Regions from separate parts of the Homo sapiens genome. Here region 1 is linked to region 2. The links are contacts of gene promoters, found by promoter capture Hi-C in blood cells and fetal thymus (Javierre and others, 2016). All regions are on one chromosome and are shown on one strand. The core of a region is centred on a gene start or on the middle of the fragment in contact, and the rest is flanking DNA. Distances in the headings are between cores, read along the strand shown. Region 1 overlaps REV3L (REV3 like, DNA directed polymerase zeta catalytic subunit). Region 2 holds the start of SLC16A10 (solute carrier family 16 member 10).

Region 1 (5,935 bases), core at 3,360-5,859, 390 kb after region 2:
AATAATGCTGCCACAAATATTCTTAGATATTTATTTGACATATATGCAAAATCTTCTAGAGAATAAAATCCTATAATGGAATTACTAGAACGAAATAAATCTGTGTTTTAATTTTTGAAAACCATTTTCAAACTGCTTTCTATAGAGTATGAATACTTTATAATCCCACCAGCAATGTATAAGGCTGACCATTTTCTCTTCTCACCTTTCCCGAGTTATACTATACATAACCTTTGCTCATTTGATAGGTGACAAAGAGTATGTTGTAGCTTGAATTTACATCTTTATTATATTATAAATAAAGTTGTACATTTTTTCATATGAATTCTCTTTGCTAATTTTTCTACTGGATTATTTTCTAGTTCTTTGTATTAAGAGGAACTTAGCCCTTTGTGAAGTATACAAATAAGTTTTACTAGTCTGTTTCTCTTTTAACTTTGTTTGATTTTTTCCCCTGTACAGAATTTTATTTTTATGTCCTAAAATCCAGCAACCCAGTATGCTATTAAAGGACTTCACCAATCCTGGATTACGTAAAAAATAATTACCCTACCTTTTTTGTTTCTTTGTTTCATATTTAAATCTTTAACTCCTCTGGAAGCCAACATTATTTTTCCAGATGACTAACTGGCTATCCCAACACTGTTTATTAAACAATTCTTCTTTTCCCTACTCATAAATGAAGGTGGGATCCATTTTCATATACAAGTTGAATACCCCTTATCTGAAATGCTTGGGACCAGAAGTGTTTCAGATTTTAGAATATTTGCACATACATGAGATATCCTGAGGATGGGACCAAACCTGAATGTAATTTTATATAATTTTAAATAATGTTACACATGAAACAAAGTTGTTTTGATTGTTTTTGAGACAGGGACTTGCTCTGTCACCCAGGCTGGAATGCAGTCATACAATCATGGCTCACTGCAGCCTTCACCTCCTGGGCTCAAGCGATCCTCCTGCCTCAGCCTCCCAAGTAGCTGGAACCACAAACGTGTACCACCCTGCCTGGCTAACTTTTGTATTTTTTTGTAGAGATAGCGTCTTTCCATGTTGCCCAGGCTGGTCTTGAACTCCTGGGCTGAAGCAATCCTCCCACCTTAGCCTCCCAAAGTGTTGGGATTACAGACATGAGCCACTGCATCCAGCCTGAAACGAAGTTTTGACTGCGACCCATCATGAGGTCAGGTGTGGAATTTTCTACTTGTGGCATCATGTTGGTGTTCAAAACATTTCAGATTTTGAAGGATTTCAGATTATGGAGTTTTAGATAAGGGATGCTCAACCTATATTAAGCTCTCATATATATTTAAGTTAATTCTAGTCTTTACTCTGTTTTAGTGCTGTCATGTGCCAAAACCATGTTACTTTTCAAAACATTTTAAAATTAAAACCACTTTACATACAAGTAAGAATAATACAACCAGAAATTACTGGCTTGCTTTAATTTATGAATCATTTTGCAATTTCTAAATGGAATTTATATAATTAAGTTCAATATGATCATCATGCAATCATGCATTTTGGTTGACACATATTTTGGAGACCATTACGAATCTCATGTCTCCCACTACATTTCTGGAACCATATCTAGAAAATCAATTTTTCCTTAATTTTGTACATGGTTTTTTTAAATTATAAAATCAGCACATGTTATCTGTAAAAAATCTGAAAATATAAAACATACCTTCCAGAGATAACCAACTTTTATACTTCGGTGTATTTTTTTCCACACTTTTAATAAGTGACTATTTTGTAAACTAATTTTTTCACATAATATGACAGCACTTTCCCATGTTATTACACATACTTCTACAACATGTTTTAAACACATCCTCCCAAATGAATATACCCAGTTTATGCAACCATTTGCCAATTGTTGAACACTTAGAGTTGTTCTCTGTGATGATTATCATCTATTTATTAATCCTTGCCACAAATGAGTTCCAAGAATTAATAGACGAGTTTCAAGCACTGTGGTAAGCATTAACTCTATAATGGTGAGGAAAAAGAAACACATTATCAGGATTTCTGGAGGTTACAATCTATTTGGAAAAACAGATGTTAATCTCCAACACATATGAAATTACAATGACAGCAAGTGCTATGAGGAGAGTTCATGGTGCTCTGAGAGTCTGTGATAGGGAAGCCTTCCCTGAGGAAAGATAAATCGAAGTTTAGGTGAAAGAAAAGTAAAAACATTCTCAGCAGGGGCAACGGCAGGTACAAAGCCCTCACTGTGGGAAGGAGCATGGCAAGAACAAGGGACTGAGATAAGGCCAACAAGGCTGGAACAAAAAGAGTAAGTCAAGAACATGGCTCAAGTCATGACTAGACAGAAAGGTAAGGGCCAGACTATGCAAGACCTTGTAAGACAGGCAGATGCCACCATATAAGACACAGAGTTCTGTCCATATCCTGAATGCAATGGAAAGCTACTGAAGCATATCAAACAGTAGGGTGATGTAATCAGGTTTGCATTTTTAAAAGATCCCTCTGATTACAGTGTAGGAAACAGATCAGAAGGGGACAAAGTAGATTGGGATAAACCAAGATTAGGAGGCTACTGTAGTAAACCTGACCAAAAATGCTAGTAGTTTAGGGTGGTGATGGATTATGAAAAGAAGTAGACGGATTCAAAAGACAACCAGATTTGCCAAAAGATTTATGCTCATAGATTAAAATCCCTAAAACTAGAATTACTGGGTCAAAAAAGAACACTTCAAGGATTCTAATATACATTGCCAAACTGCCCTGCAAAGAGCAGTTGTCTTCATCTGTCAATTACCTTGTAGCTGTTCCTCTATCTGAAATTTTAAGTTCCTTAAAAATTCCTTTAACATGACTAATCCATATTTCCTTCACGAAGTCTTCCCTGACTCCCCTTTTTGCCTGGATATAGAACATGTCTCCCAATGAATCCTTGCTTTGTCTTATACACATTTCTATAGTCCAGTCATACTGCATTTGACTTACGTTTACATGCCCATCATCTCTACTACATTGTGAGCTTCTGGAGAGTAAAGCTGTTCTTAAGGCACTTAAAGCTAAAACAACTTGCTACTCAGGGCTTCAAATACCTACTTTAAAAAAAGTGACCAATTTGTTTGTGATGAGTCATTACATCTCCATAGCGTTCCTGAAAATCTCTCCAATAATTGTAATCAAATAGGTGTTATATGATCTTAAAATATTTTTAAATAGCTTAGTAAAAAACAGACTATGAACAAAGCAGATTCTATTAGAGAAACTTTTGAACCTGAGTTGTTGATACACGCTAATTTTCAAAATTATTCTTATTGCAAATTTAACTCCAATTTACCAAAAAAAAAAAAAAAGGTTATTCTGGTAGTTTCTTATATTTAATTTTATAAAATATAAACAATGAGAATATATTTATAATTGGATAAGCATCTACATAAACTTATATAGCATTTCAGAATTATCAATTCCTTATGTTGAAAAGCTTGATTTCATGGCTAACAGTATCTAGAACAATCTACCAAAATATTCACTAAGCTAGAGGAAGTGGCAGAGTTCCTTAGAGTAATCTTAAAGACAAGCAGCTCCCTCTATAGTCTGTCTGGCCTACTTTGTTTAATTCCTTGCTTTGTGGACATCCCACACTCTTCTATTTACTCCTACTCTGCATCTCAGCAGGGAAGCTCTTTGAAAGGATAGTTCTGTTTAACCTGGTGCTGAGGAAACTGTGAGAGCTGTCTAAACTCAGCATGAAGTGAGTTACATCAAGCAACTAAGCAAAAGTCGAGATGTGGAAAATGGACAGCTTCCCAAGTCCACCTCAGTCAAATCCTTAAATGAAGCCTGATGATTTCATTTGTAGTGAATCCTCTGAGTGGTCACACCTATATTCAAATCTAAATGAAAAAACATTGTCCTATACTTTATTCACAACCTTTCTTCCCTCCATTAAAACAAGTTACCAAAATGTTGTTCTAAAAGAAAAAATTAACAATTTATTCTACAAATGATACTGCTCAATTTGATTATGTCAAAATAATGTTCAAGACATTTTAAAAACTAGTTAAAAAAATGGAGAGGAAATTTGTTTTTGTTTTTTAAAAAATTCCATAACTCAGATGAAGAAACTTTAAGTGATTCCCTTAGGAATCAATATCCTCAGTTGGCAAGGGATTAAATCAGTCAGGATTTACCATTCAAATCTGAATATCCCCCCCCGCCTTTTTTTTTTTTTTTTTTAAGACAGGCTCTTGCTCTGTTGCCCAGGCTGGAGTGCAGTGGCGTGATCTTGGCTCACTGCAGCCTCAACCTTCTGGGCTGAAGCGATTCTCCTGTCTCAGCTTTCCAAATAGCTAGTACTACAGGTGCACACCACCACGCCCAGCCAATTTTGTTTGTTTGTTTGTTTGTTTTGTACAGACTATGTCGCCCAGGCTGGTCTCCAACTCCTGGGTTCAAGCGATCCTCCTGCCTCTGTCTTCCAAAGTGTTGGGATTACAGGCATGAGCCACAGCACCCAGCCCTGAATATCCCTCTTTTTAAAAATACCTTTTCAAATTTCACCAACTTAAGACATGGGAGCTTTTAAACCCAAAACACTTTATTTCTTAAATTACTCAAGATACGTCCTCAAAACACAGAACAATCAAAAGTCAACTGGACTGTTTTCTAAAGCAGAAAAATGCTTTTCAGGCAATAATAGAAAAACTAAACTAGTAAAAGGGTATTAATCCAATCAGTTCAGAATTTGTAATATAATTTTGAAACGGCCACTTCATTTGAGAAAAAATATCTTTGGTTGCTATTTTTCAGGATCTCATTTGTAAAGCAAAGTCAATTTTAAAACATTTTCTCTCCAAACCAAAGTAAAGCATTAAGGACCTCCCAAAGTAATTCTTATATATGAAAAAAGTATGTTTATGCTATTTTATGTAGCATAGGTTTATCATGTGTTACACATTTTTATTACCTTATTTTACTTGTTAGTAAAGATATAAACTATAAAGATATAATACAAACCATGTTTATATCTTTGCATTATGTTTACATCTTTACTTTCAAATAAATCTGTCTTCATTAAAAATTCTAGCATTCAGAGTTTTACTAAGTCAGACTGGCCTCTCTTTTATATTAATAATTTTCAAGTTTTATTTTATTGGACTAGTTTTCCTTGGGGAGATAATTCAAAAGCAGGTAATTCTGCAGTTTTTGATTATGTTTAATTAATATTAATCTCACTGGGAGTTTCTGACGTGCTAATAAAAATGCTGGCTTGGTTTATGAAAAGTGTAAACTCTAAATGTATGCCAATGACTTCAAATTTTTTCTTGTTGAAACAAACATTTTGTTGGAAACTGTGAACTACATGGCAAATTCAATTTGATAATCCTTAACAATTTAAAATTTGACTTTCTCTGTATCAAGTTTTATGTCTTTCAATGTACATATAAAAAGTGTTACTTTTTAATTCATTTAAAATATAAATTTCAAAGTATGTACCAAAAAAAAAACCCCAATGGGGGTTTTTAGTCTTTGGTTTTTTCGTTTTTGTTTTTTTTTTTTTTTTTAAGGTGCTGGTAATCTATTGTGGGATGTCCATGAAGGATTAAATAGGAAATAGTTAATGTGTCTTTTAAAAAATATTCAGGAAAACAACAGTATATAATATTCTTTATTTTTTAAGGAACATTTCCTCACGTAATAGAATTACATTAGCTTACAGTGAAACTCATTTATTTCCACAAACGAAACTTTCCTATACAACAAAGCTTGACTATCTCTCAGGAAAACATATTTAATGACTTGTGTGGAGGAGAAAAAATTATGTGTGGAAAAGTAACTCAAACCATACAAGCTGTAATACACAGAAATGCCACAGTATATCCTATTAGCATGTCACTTTATGATTCGGAAATTTGGCTGAACAGGGCCATATCAACTTCACTATTTT
Region 2 (6,524 bases), core at 3,443-5,942:
AAAGTGCTGGGATTACAGATGTGAGCCACCTTGCCAGGCTCTGTATTACTTCTACAACTAAAAAAAGAAACACATGATTTAAACATATTTAAAAGTTTTCACCTGAAAATACGGAATCTTCTCAATTACACACTTTGTGGTTCTTTAAATTATTTTTGAATTCTATTCAATTTGGTTCAATAAATATTTGTTGTGCACTAACACTACTTGGTGCTGTGGTTCAAAGATTTGTGAAAGACTATCTGACCTGTCTGAAAATTCCTACACTAGCCAAGGAGATTGAAAACCATTCTACTGACCATAAAAACTGCTATAAATAAAATATGGAAGCCTAGCGGAAGGATCAGTAAAGGCTTCAGAGAAGTGAATTCCATTTTAGAGTGGAGCCTTGAAGATTGAGTGAGATTTCACCATTAGGAAAAGGGGAGAGGTGGTCATTTCAGAAGCAGGGTCTGCAGGGAGGAATAGAGGTGTTCATACTTGTTCCTGAAATGAGGAGCAGGCCTTAAGACTGCAGAACAGAGTTTCAGCAGGTATAGGTTAGAGGATGAATTGGTGCAGGCAGAATTTGTTGGCAGCAAGACTAATTAGTAGGTCATTATGATGGTCCTTGAGAAATGATAAGGAATCATTAAGGAATCAGCAGCAAGGATGGAGAGTAGGGAACCAGGCAAAAGACCTTCTGGAGCTAGAGTTGACAGGATTGCGTTTGAGAGAACCAGGGGAGAAGTATATTAGGAAGCAGACCCAGGTTTCAGCTTGGATTTGGGAGGATTAGGAGTAATACCAAAGGAGAATCAGGTTGAGGGGACTTCTGAAAGAGAGGTAAAAAAGTGGAGATGAGAGAATTAGTTCAGTCTCATTTTTAAAGTGCATTTTTTGGCCCTGCGTGGTGGCTCACGCCTGTAATCTCAGCACTGTGGGAAGCTGAGGTGGGCAAATCACTTGAGATGAGGAGTTCGAGACCAGCTTGGCCCAACATGGTGAAACCTTGTCTCTACTGAAAATACAAAAAATAGCTGGGCGTGGTGGCACGTGCTTGTAATCCCAGCTACTTGGGAGGCTGAGGCAGGAGAATCACTTGAACTCAGGAGGCAGAGGTTGCAGTGAGCTGAGATTGTGCCACTGCCCTCCAGCCTCGGGGACAGAGAGAGACTCTGTCTCAAAAAAAAAAAAAAAAAAAAGGGCCAGGCACAGTGGCTTACACCTGTAATCCCAGCACTTTGGGAGGCAGAGGCAGGCGGATCATGAGGTCAGGAGATCAAGACCATCCTGGGAGGCTGAGGCAGGAGAATCACTTGAACCTAGGAGGTGGAGTTGCAGTGAACCGAGATCTTACCACTGCACTTCAGCCTGGGTGACAGAGCGAGACTCTGTCTCAAAAATAAAATAAAACAAAATAAAAATAAATAAATAAGACTGTCCTAAATAGGAAAGGTTGGTCTTTTGAAATAGAATAAGGAATCAAGTGGATTGTTTTGTTTAATAAATAAGTTTAACATAAACTGCTGATGAAAAGGCCTACATAAAGCACTGTTGGCATTTAGATTTAATGAACTATTACACCTTTTAAAATTTTATAAATCTTTTTATCTGATCTCAAAGCACTTAATAAATAGGAACTCATTAAAAACATACCATCACTGCGCTGAGCATGGTGGCTCATGCCTGTAATCCCAGCACTTTGGGAGGCCAAGGCAGGCAGATTACGAAGTCAAGAGATCGAGACCACCCTGGCCAACATGGTAAAACCCCATCTCTACTAAAAATACAAAAATTAGCTGGGTGTGGTGGTGCACGCCTGTAGTCCCAGCTACTCAGGAGGCTGAGGCAGGAGAATCGCTTGAACCCGGGAGGTGGAAGTTGAAGTGAGCCGAGATTGGGCCACTGTACTCCAGCCTGGTGACAGAGTGAGACTCCATCTCAGGAAAAAAAAAAAATACCATCACTATGTCACTATGCTGTAGTTATAAGTAAACAGGTTCATATTTTCAGGTGGAGAAGATGAGGTCAATCCAATAACACAATGTGAGTTGTTGATTAGTGTGGACATAGAAATAGAAGGTAGTTTTCCTGGACACCTAAAACTCTGCTCCATTCAATAGCCTATTGGTAGTTAGAAGTAAACACTCTTTTTTTAAAGAGATGGATTATTACTTATGTTGCTTGAGGCCAGGAGTTCGAGACCAGCCTGGTTGCTGGTCTCAGCAATGTTGCTCAGGCTGATCTCGAATTCCTGGCCTCAAGCCATCCTCCCACCTGAGCCTCCCAAAGTGCTGGGATTACAGGCTTGAGCCACCACACCTTGCCTCATTTGTTACAATTAATGACCCAATGTTGATACATTATTATTAACTAAAGCCGACATTTTGTTCATATTTCTTTACTTTTAATCTAATGTCCTTTTTCTGTTCCAGTATCCATCCAGGATATCACATTACATTTAGTTATCATGTCTCTTAGGCTTTTTTTTTTTTTTTTGAGTTGGAATCTCACTGTCACCCAGGCTGGGGTACAGTGGCGCGATCTCAGCTCACTGCAACCTCTGCCTTCTGGGTTCAAGCGATTCTCCTGCCTCAGCCACCTGAGTATCTGGGATTACAGGCCCACGCCACTATGCCTGGCTAATTTTTGTATTTTTGGTAGAGATGGGGTTTCGCCATATTGGCCAGGCTGGTCTCGAACTCCTGACCTCAAGTGATCCGCCCGCCTCGGCCTCCCAAAGTGCTGGGATTACCAGCATGAGCCACGACACCCAGCCCTCTTAGACTCTTTTTTACTGTGACAGTTTCTCAGACTTTCCTTGTTTTTGATGACTTTTACAGTAATGAAAGTACTTAATGGGTATTTTGTAGACTGTCCTTGATTGGGATTTGTCTAATGTTTTTCTGATGGTTAGCCAGGGATTATGGGTTTTGGCAGGAAGACCACAGAGGTAAAGTACCATTTTCATCACATCATATCGGGGATACATTATCATCTAGTTGAGGTACTGTGTGCCATTTTTTGCACCCTAAAGTTATTTCTTCCCCCCACTCCCCCTTTCCATCCTATACTCTTTGGAAGAAAGTTACTACGCATACCCACACTTAAAGAGTAAACCATTGTACTTCACCTCCATGAGGGAGGGAGTATGTTCATAAAGTATTTACATTTCCTGCAGGAGAGATTTGTCTATTCTCTCCTCATTATTTATTTAATCATTTACTTACATCAGTACTGACTCGTGGATAATTCTTACATATGTGTTTGTTTGTGTGCATGCAAATATATAATCGATGTGCTTTCTTTGCCCAATAATATGTTGTGGACAACTTTCAAAGTCAATAAATACAGATGACCTTCAGAACTTTTAGAGGTTTTAAAGTAAGTATCTAATCAGTCTTCTACCAATGTACATTATACTTCCAAATTTTCCTTATTTCCAACAATACTGGGGTATCATCTTCATACATACATTTTTGTGCACTTATGTGCCTATTCCTTTGTTTACTATTTTACCCTCATTTCTAAGGCAGATTACACTTGAGCTATGTTCCCCATTCCACAACCAAGCACGGCTTGCTTTCCTTAGTTTATGCTATTTTCTCTACCTGGAATGCTCTTTTCCTGTCTTGACCCACTGAAGTCGTATGTATGAATCAGGGCTTCGGCCAAAGGCTGTTTGCTGTAGAGGCTCTTCTACAGTGTTTGGAGAGAATTTAAGGGACTATCTCATCTCTCTCTTTTGTACATGTATTATAACACATCATCTGAGCCTCCTAGTCTCTCCCAGGACTCTTTTTTCCTACCAGTTTATCAACTGATAAGAGGCAGAAACGAGATCAATCGCACTCATCTGTGTACTCTATCACAGTGGTGGGCACATCAAGTAACTAGCATATTTTGACTTTGATTGAAGTGAAGAATACGAATAACAGAAATTAAGAAGCATCCTCAATATTGCATAGCAGGTTACTCTTCTTTTCTTTTACATAGGATGGCACTCCATGCTTCAGGGAGACAGAGGAGTTGAATACAGGTTTTAGTTTTTGTTTAAAGTGAAAACGACTCTGATGTAGTTGAAAAGTAATGCTTTCTAGCTGTCTGTTAAAAATGTTTGTTGGTTGAAGACTTCGGAATTGCAGTCCAGTGAGGACTGAAAATAAGCATCTTTGGTGTGCCAAATATTCATAAGGAAATTGTATACGAATGCAAGAGAATGGAACTGAAGTAATAAAATAAGGGCTCTGATCCTTCAGATGACTTATTTAAGAAGCCAGGTGGCATAACGAATCTTACATATTATAATTAGTACTGAGAGGTGAATGCCAAAACATAAAACAAACACAATCGAGACAATGTTAGTGTGACTGTGACGCTGTGTCGGTGAGTTGAGGCTAACGATCCAGTGTGGCTCTCCTGAAGGCCCACCGCGCCCGCACCTAGGAGACGCGCCCCTTCTGCTCATGCTTTGAGGCGGGGTGACCCACACATCTGTGCCCCTCTCTGAGCAGGAGGAGGCCCCGTCGCAGACGCGCGCGCAGACAGCGTCTGCCGCGGGCACCTGGGGCCGCGCGCCGCGGGGCGCCCCGCCTCCGCTCTCCGAGGCCCAATCATCTGGAGGCTGTGGGGGCACGTCCCGCTCCCGGCCACGCCCCCAGCCGGCGGGGCGGGGGGTGCTTTTAAGAACCGGCGGCTGGCAGTGGGCTCAGTCGGGGGTGCGGGGCTGTGACCTAGAGGCTTCAGTGTCGATCCCCGAGGTGTTCGCGCGCGCCAGCTGTCCTCGCGGCCGCCTGCGCGCTGGCCGCCTGCGCGCTGCCAGCCCGCCCGCCCGCCAGGGGCTCCGCCGCCCTCGCCTCGGCCTCGTTAGCCCGCCAGGAGCCCCGCAGCTCCTCCGGGAGCCCGCTGGTAACTCGCGTCCCTCGCGCTTCTCCGGCGCCTGAGGGGCCCGCCTCGGGCCATGGTGCTCTCCCAGGAGGAGCCGGACTCCGCGCGGGGCACGAGCGAGGCGCAGCCGCTCGGCCCCGCGCCCACGGGGGCCGCTCCGCCGCCCGGCCCGGGACCCTCGGACAGCCCCGAGGCGGCTGTCGAGAAGGTGGAGGTGGAGCTGGCGGGGCCGGCGACCGCGGAGCCCCATGAGCCCCCCGAACCCCCCGAGGGCGGCTGGGGCTGGCTGGTGATGCTGGCGGCCATGTGGTGCAACGGGTCGGTGTTCGGCATCCAGAACGCTTGCGGGGTGCTCTTCGTGTCCATGCTGGAAACCTTCGGCTCCAAAGACGATGACAAGATGGTCTTTAAGACAGGTGAGGCGCGGCGCCCGCCGAGGCCAGCCTGGGCGACCCGCGTGGGGCCCCCGAGCGCATCCCGCGTGTGGGCTGTGTCTGCCTCCGAGTGTGCATGTCGGTGGGTCCCTGTGCCAGAGGGTGCGAGCAGGGGGGTCTTTCGAGTTGCAGACAGAGCCTGCCGCTTCTGGGGCCTCGGGGTGCCCGTCTTTATATGGAATCCAGCTGCAGAGCTGTGTGTTTGCAAGCAGGTCGCAGAACTTACTTGCCGAGATCGTCCTCCTTTCCCCTCAGCAGAGCAGACGCTAACAGTCCACAGGAGCCCTTCCTTTTATTGTTTGAAAACAAACAGAACCCCAGAACCTTCAACCCCAGTCATCGCCCTGTCATTTTTGTGGTCTCTTTCGTGACTATGCCAGTTATGTAGTTCTTCACCTGCCTCCCTGGGCCGCAGAGGGGTGTGCGTATGTTGGCGGGGCGGGGGGTGGAGTTTGGAGGAATGAAAGAGATTTGTACGAAGGTCACTGGAGTTCCAAAGGGGGCCCTGCAAGAGTCACGGTTCCGTGCGTTCCCGTCCCCCCGCCTTTTTTTGCCCTCTGGGTTAAATGTAGAAAACACGGGAGGCAGCCGGATTAGGGACTAGGATGAGGAAGGTGAAGGGTTGCTTCTTCCCTCTTCCTGTTGTGTTTTTTGACATTTTTTTTTAACCATATAGTAAATTAGATACAAAAGGTGCAGATTCAGCGTTTTCTCCCTGTAGAGCATTATTATGACTTTTTGGCTGGTTAGGCAAAAAACAAATCTAAGACCTTCTGCATGACACTTTAACATAAATTCTTTCACTTTATCCTGCAAGGTGAGCGCGGTCAACCCCATTTGGGTGAGAAAACTGTAGCTCAGTGAAAGTGTCTTGGTGGGTAGTAGAATGGCAATAAAACACATATCAACTGACTTCAAGGGCTAAGTGATTTCCATTACTAAATCAACCTCCCTCCCCATCATTTGGGGTAACTTTATATGATTAATAGTCTTTTTTTTTAACCTTGATTTTCTATTATTTTTAGAGTGAATATTTCTTAGGTCTTTAGTATGCATATGAGGAATGGGCAAGACTGTAATAAATTCTGAGACAAAGGTAATGCTGGGTTATGCTGAGAGTTTTAAAACCTGACATAAATACTATTAAACTATTTGTATCATTCTGCAACTTACTTTTCTTCCATTCCGCATCATGTTTGTGACTTATCCACATAATACCTC

The links. The method cuts DNA at HindIII sites, captures the fragments that hold promoters and counts their contacts. A CHiCAGO score of 5 or more calls a contact.
Region 1: a fragment that was not itself captured here is called in contact with the fragment with the promoter of SLC16A10 in region 2 in 6 of 17 cell types (fetal thymus, activated CD4 T cells, non-activated CD4 T cells and 3 more); the score reaches 7.6 in fetal thymus.

Annotation. Positions count from the first base shown.
Region 1 is chr6:111,475,304-111,481,238 of GRCh38, forward strand. All of the region lies in intron 1 of REV3L (REV3 like, DNA directed polymerase zeta catalytic subunit), which reads right to left. Among named protein-coding and RNA genes, the nearest start is that of REV3L, 4.9 kb to the right of the region's middle. RefSeq lists enhancers at 1,849-2,741, 3,339-4,063. The HindIII fragment of the contact is 2,284 bases long and covers 3,468-5,751 here.
Region 2 is chr6:111,082,811-111,089,334 of GRCh38, forward strand. SLC16A10 (solute carrier family 16 member 10) reads left to right here and starts at 4,693. Exons shown (of 6, transcript NM_018593.5): 1 at 4,693-5,285. The coding sequence starts at 4,943. RefSeq lists silencers at 4,374-5,053, 5,084-5,263 and an enhancer at 5,076-5,576. The HindIII fragment of the contact is 14,016 bases long and covers 1-6,524 here.